Linked DNA regions of Homo sapiens: region 2 is linked to region 1. The links are contacts of gene promoters, found by promoter capture Hi-C in blood cells and fetal thymus (Javierre and others, 2016). All regions are on one chromosome and are shown on one strand. Each heading gives the region's core, a stretch centred on a gene start or on the middle of the fragment in contact. The rest is flanking DNA. Distances are from core to core; before and after follow the strand shown.

Evidence for each region. The method cuts DNA at HindIII sites, captures the fragments that hold promoters and counts their contacts. A CHiCAGO score of 5 or more calls a contact.
Region 2: a contact is called between a fragment that was not itself captured here and the fragment with the promoter of NDUFA5 in region 1, in 1 of 17 cell types (M2 macrophages). The highest score is 8.5, in M2 macrophages.

The regions. Positions count from the first base shown.
Region 1 is chr7:123,556,311-123,559,612 of GRCh38, forward strand. NDUFA5 (NADH:ubiquinone oxidoreductase subunit A5) reads right to left here and starts at 1,508. Exons shown (of 5, transcript NM_005000.5): 1 at 1,465-1,508; 2 at 1,094-1,138. The coding sequence starts at 1,485. RefSeq lists enhancers at 638-1,216, 781-1,980, 1,217-1,795, 1,536-1,585, 1,846-1,985. The HindIII fragment of the contact is 10,047 bases long and covers 1-2,506 here.
Region 2 is chr7:123,867,087-123,870,388 of GRCh38, forward strand. HYAL4 (hyaluronidase 4) reads left to right here. Exons shown (of 5, transcript NM_012269.3): 3 at 1,137-2,141. The coding sequence starts at 1,188. Among named protein-coding and RNA genes, the nearest start is that of HYAL4, 24 kb to the left of the region's middle. The HindIII fragment of the contact is 477 bases long and covers 1,216-1,692 here.

The DNA of each region.
Region 1 (3,302 bases), core at 258-2,757:
TATTCAGGACTTTTATAAAGGAAGAGGTCAGTGCTTTACATGGAAATCTGTTGTCAGTGTATAGGTGGTATTTAAAACCGTTCTCTATTTGGATTTGCTCTCTCTTGGTGACAGAGTACAGGTCCAAAAGAAAAGGTCCAAGAACTAAATCCTGACTAACTCAAATTTTAAAAGTGGGCATAAGAGAAATAACCAGAAAAAGAGAAAGCCAAAGAGTAGGGGGAAAAAATCAGGAGACTGGGGGAGTCCTGAAGCCCAGTAAAGAAAGCGCATGATGGAAAAAGTGTCAAATGTGTCAAAAAAAAAAAAACGCTGCTATTAGGTCAATGAAGGTGAGAAACATAAGCTGACCATTGGATTTGGCAACATGGAGATAACTGGTGAACTTGAAAAGAGCGTGATGGAAAAAGTGTCAAATGTGTCAAAAAACGCTGCTATTAGGTCAATGAAGGTGAGAAATATGAGCTGACCATTGGATTTGGCAGCATGGAGATAATTGGTGAACTTGAAAAACGCCAAGGGTGACTGAGTGCATTCAAGGGTGAATAAGAAAGAAATTGGAGAAAATAGAGATAACTCTTTTGAGTTATCTGTAAAGTGAAGCAAAGAAATGGTGTGATTATAGAAGGGACAAGAAGAATAAAAAAATTTTGTGGGTTTTTTTGATGAAAACATTCGTGAATACAGATGGAAAAGACCTAACAGAAGGAAAAGGGGGCAGTACCTTTAGTAAGCCTAAATATATGTAATCCAACGCACCTAAGCAGAAACGGTAAGGCAAGGAGAAAAGATGGAAAACGGAGATATAAATTTGAGATGGCGCTGACAGAAGCAAGCACAAGTGAAGCCATGAAAATGTCAAGGAAAAAGTCAACAAGAAAACTGGCTTAATAAAGAGGTCATGGCAAAAATAAATAAAAATGTGACATCGGATCAACGAAGTAGGTGGACAGCGCCCGTGTCTCAAGAGCTCACGCGGCTTGTAATTAAGGGCTTGAAACATCTGTATCCCGTTAACCCTGCAATAAGCAAAGTGACAGGAATTTAGTCTTCCTTGGGAATTCAAGAACGAAGAAAGAACAAAGGTACATACCTCGTGAGGAGTATTGCACACAGCCAATCCCACAAGGCCAGTGGTCTGTTCAAAAACAAAACACGATTCATGCTGTTTACTACGGTTTCCATACATCCAGCACGCTAAGGAAATACAAAACCACGAATCCCCCGGCTAAAACTGGTCTAAAGCCAGCTACTGGTCTCTCAGTCTCGCTTGTTTGGAGCTTTTTTCCTGACTCTCGGAGCGGAACCACTAACCTGCCCTACCCGGTAAGGCATGCAGAACGAGTCCCCGAAAAGCACCGCCGAGCCCGCGACAGTAGGGGTCAACACCCGCGGGAAGTAGGGCTATCGGACTGAGTCTACCCCCACAGTCTAAATTCCAACAGTGACCTCCATTCGTCTCACCTTCTTCAGCACACCCGCCATGACAGCGCCAACGACTCGGTGACGCACAACCCTTTGGGAACAATTCTCAGACCTGCTCAATCGACCACCGAGGTCGCCACTCTGTCACCCTGGAAACAGCTTAGCTCCACCCCTTCAGGATCGCCAAAGGAGCAAAGACTCTGCCCCGCCCATCTTAAAAGAGAAAAATTGACGCATGCGCGATGGGCATACAAGCCTAAAGCTAAGCTAGAAGACGATTGGGGAAAGAAAGGGTTTCCCAGCTGTCTGTTCCTGTTCCTGCCACTGCTGACGGCTTGCCCAAAGATTGAGGGAAACACTCCCAACTACCAAAAAACTCCAGTCGCTGTAGGAACCTGCACTGTGCTTAACCGTTGATGCATTCCTCAACCTTCCTTTCTCAGTTTAGTAAAATGAAAGTGATAACGGAGCTTGAGCATCCTCTGAATTGATCTCTCAACAGCAAGTTAGTTCTTCGCACAAGGATATCAGTATTCTCTGTGTCTTACGAACCAAAGCCCTATGGAGTGTGAGGTCATTTTCCATCGCTCTTTTCGATTTCACTGGCTGAAATACATCATCTTATTTCCAGATGAAATGATATCAGACCATACCACTTTTTCCTACCTCCACAAACACTGACCACTCACTATGTGTCAGTTACTGGGACATAATTTCTAAAATGGGATTTCACATCCTGGAATTCAAAGAATAATGAAGAAGGCGTGTATTAATAAATAATTTGGTAACTGTTCTAAAAGAAGTTGATGCAAAGTGTGATGGTACCAGGGAAAAGGAAATAACTAAAAAGCGTGGGTGACTTTCTAAAAAGTCAGTAGGAGAAAAGAACAAATTGAGAAAACACAAGTACAAAGGAAAAGAGGTTAAAAATGTATATATAAATTCCAGGTGATTTTATGTGATTGGAAAGGTGGGTTTGATTGTTAAGGTAAACTGGTTAAGATTATGAAAGGTGTTGTTTGCCATTATACAAAATTTGAATTTTACTTTTTAAGGAATGGGAACAATGAGAAGACTTTTAAGCTTCTAAGTGACACCATCAAATTTATGTTTCAGATATACAAACAACTTAGGCAACAGTTGAAGAGAATGAGTTGGAAGAGATGAGGCCTTTCATTAGAGGCATGAGACTAGAAAAAATGAAAGCTAAACCAAAAGCAAACAGAAGAAAGGAAATATTAAAGATTAGAAAAGAAGGAGACAGAATATCAATAAAGAAAATCAATGAAACCAGGAATTGGTTCCCTAAAAGGATCAACAAAATTGGCAAACCTTTAGTGAAACTAAGAAAAAAAAGAGAGAAGATTTAATACAAGCAAGAATAAAAGAACCATCACTAATAGCCTTGCTGAAATAAACAGGAATAAGAAGGAATACTATGAACAACTATGCTTAAAAAAGATAAAGTAGATAAAATGGCCAGATTCCTAGAAAAACACAAACTACCTAAATCAACTCAAGAAGGCATAAAGAAAAATCTGACTAGATCTAACATAATTAAAGAAATTGAATTAGCAAGAAAAAAAAAAAAACCTATCCAGAAGGAAAAGCACAGGTCCAGATGGCTTCGCTGGTAAATTCCACTGAACAATTAAAGAATAACACTTAAGAAACTATTCCAAAATATAGAAGAGGAGGAAACAATTAACAACTAATTCTATAAGGCAAGTATTACTCTGATTCCAACCAGACAAAGAAATCAACAAGAAACAAAAACTTCAGCCAGGTGTGGACTCTGATTCCAACCAGACAAAGAAATCAACAAGAAAAGAAAACTTCGGCTGGGCCTGGTGGCTCATGCCTGTAATCCCAGCACT
Region 2 (3,302 bases), core at 204-2,703, 310 kb after region 1:
ATCTTCTCTTTTAACTCCAGTGTCTTCCCTGAGACATTCTGTTACACCAGGGGTTTGGTCTAGGTCCTGTTGCTTGCTGCAGAGAAAGCCAATCACTGAGTCAAGGAGTATTGCTGGGGAAGAAGGCCTTATTTGGGTGCTGCAGCCAAGGAGAATAAAGGATCAGTCTGGAATCCATCTCCCCAAGCAACTAAAATTTGGGGTCTATAAAGTAGGGAAGAAAAGTAACTATGTGTGGGAAAACAGGAATTAAGGAAGGGTAAGAAAGAGGACTTGGTCAACAGGCAAGTGGTCAGTTAGGCAATCATGATGAGTGAGGCATCTGGTGTCTCATTGTTTAGATGTGATAATCTGGTAAGTTTCAGTTCCTTGAAACATTCTGGGAGGCTTGATGGTTGGTTTACCGAGAAAGGAACCCAGATAAGACAAATATAACTTTCTTAAGTTTTACCCTGGGAGGGTCAATTTCTAAGTTTATTCAGAAGAAACCCAAAACATCTATTCTTTGGGATAGTTGGGCTGGTTTTAATTTCTTGCCACTCAAATCACTTTCCTTTCCATTCCTACCTACTGCTTACTCCAAGAAGTAATTGCTCCAATAAATTATCATGTAGTACTTGTTATGCATTTTTATTATTTAAATTTTACATCACCTTGCCTTCCATATAAAGTGACATCAGGCAAGCCTTTTCATCTCTCTAAGCCTCAGTTTCCCCATTTGTAAAATGGAAATGTAATTATAAGCCTTATGTAGTTATTACAAGTTTAAAAAAAATATTTACAAAGCAGTTAAGCACAATGCCTGGGATTTGATGAGTTTTGCAAAATGATGGTAAATATTATTTCACATCTTTATCTGATCATGAACTCCTTAAAGGCAAGGACTACATCTTATTCATTTTGTTTTCTGGACATGGGGTCTGGTGCTCCATGAATGTTTGTTGAATTGCATTTCCTGCCCCTGAATAGAAGCTAGGTCTCTACATATGCTTCTATATCTCAATTTATTTATAGGCCTCTTTGAGACCTTTAAGTGATACACTTTACAAATAGTCATATATAATAATAATATCTATTTATTATTTGAGTCTTTTTCCTCAAAACTATGACTAACAGAAAATTAAATCTCTCCACAGGTCTTCTAGAGTGCACTAAAGCAGAAGATAACGTAACATTTTTATCTTACCATGAAAGTATTATCTGAAGGACAGTTAAAGCTTTGTGTTGTTCAACCAGTACATCTCACTTCATGGCTCCTTATATTTTTTATTCTAAAGTCTATCTCTTGTCTAAAACCTGCTCGACTTCCAATTTATCAAAGGAAACCTTTTATAGCTGCTTGGAATGCTCCAACAGATCAGTGTTTGATAAAATATAATTTAAGACTAAATTTGAAAATGTTTCCTGTGATTGGAAGCCCACTGGCCAAGGCCAGGGGGCAAAATGTCACTATATTTTATGTCAACAGATTGGGATACTATCCGTGGTATACATCACAAGGGGTCCCCATTAATGGAGGTCTCCCACAGAACATAAGTTTACAAGTACATCTGGAAAAAGCTGACCAAGATATTAATTATTACATCCCTGCTGAAGATTTCAGTGGACTTGCTGTTATAGATTGGGAATATTGGCGACCACAGTGGGCCCGGAACTGGAACTCAAAAGATGTTTACAGACAGAAGTCAAGAAAGCTTATTTCCGATATGGGAAAGAATGTATCAGCTACCGATATTGAATATTTAGCCAAAGTGACCTTTGAAGAAAGTGCAAAAGCTTTCATGAAGGAAACCATCAAATTGGGAATTAAGAGCCGACCCAAAGGCCTTTGGGGTTATTATTTATATCCTGATTGCCACAATTATAACGTTTATGCCCCAAACTACTCTGGGTCATGCCCAGAAGACGAAGTCTTGAGGAACAATGAGCTCTCTTGGCTCTGGAACAGCAGTGCTGCTTTATATCCTTCTATCGGTGTCTGGAAATCCCTTGGAGACAGTGAAAACATTTTGCGCTTCTCCAAATTTCGGGTGCATGAATCCATGAGGATCTCCACCATGACATCTCATGATTATGCTCTGCCTGTATTTGTCTACACAAGGCTAGGGTACAGAGATGAACCTTTATTTTTCCTTTCTAAGGTAAGAAGCTTCTTGTCCAATGGTGGGGGATTTCCTCCTTATCTCTAAAAGGACATTTCTTTGTTAATTATGTTCTTTGAAGAATTGATTTCAATTAATGGTTTGTTATATGGGAGCATAATTCTTCCTTGACTAGTCATGCATTTAGACTCTTCATTTATGGAAACTGAATTTTGATTATCTTACTCATTATTATTCTCTTAAGGAACAAAGTAAGGTGAGAAAGGGTTAAAGTAGATACCAGCAACGACTACATTTCCTGCACACCAACTTTAACTGTACTCACTTACAATCGGGCATTTTGGAAGGTTATTGAAATGATCGGCAGTGAGCAGGTTAGACAATCAAAAAGGATGTTTTGAAATGGAGTGTTTGCTCATACATGTGGAAGCAGAATTGTCTAGCCACTTAAACAAAAAAATTCTAGGGAAAGTAGTGGGTATTTTAATCTTTGTTTTGTTTTTTTTTTTTCTTCAAGATGGAGTTTTTTGTTCTTGTCACCTAGGCTGGAGTGTAATGATGCAATCTCGGCTCACTGCACCCCCCACCTCCTGGGTTCAAGCGATTCTCCTGCCTCAGCCTCCCAAGTAGCTGGGTTTACAGGTGCTCACCCCCCCCCACCCAGCTAATTTTTGTACTTTTAGTAAAGACGGGGTTTCACCATGTTGGACAGGCTGGCCTTGAACTCCTGACCTCAGGTGATCCACCCTCCTCGGCCTCCCAAAGTGCTGAGATTACAGGCATGAGCCACCGTGCCCAGCCTAATCTTTGGATTTGGATAATTTTGTGTAACCTTTCTACATTGAGAAGACTCAGGACTTGTGGAGGGCTTCACATGTGTGATGCAGTGATGTTTTAAGGTATTGCTGGATACCAGTGGTTTAATATATTTTAACAGAGGCATTTTTCCTTTCTCCACCATTACAAATTTCAACTCACCAATATCTGTTAAAGACGTTCTGAGTTCTAGGCATCCTAAGGAGGAGGCATAGAAAACACCCAGGTGAGGGCTCTACAGTGACCAGGTATCTTTGGAACATAAATGGAATGTATTCATCAGAGGGAGAAATGATGCATGTGTATGAAATATGGTAAATACCATACCTCCAACATCACTCATGAGGTGAAGGAGGAAGGAAAAAAAGTCTCTGTTGTGAACTT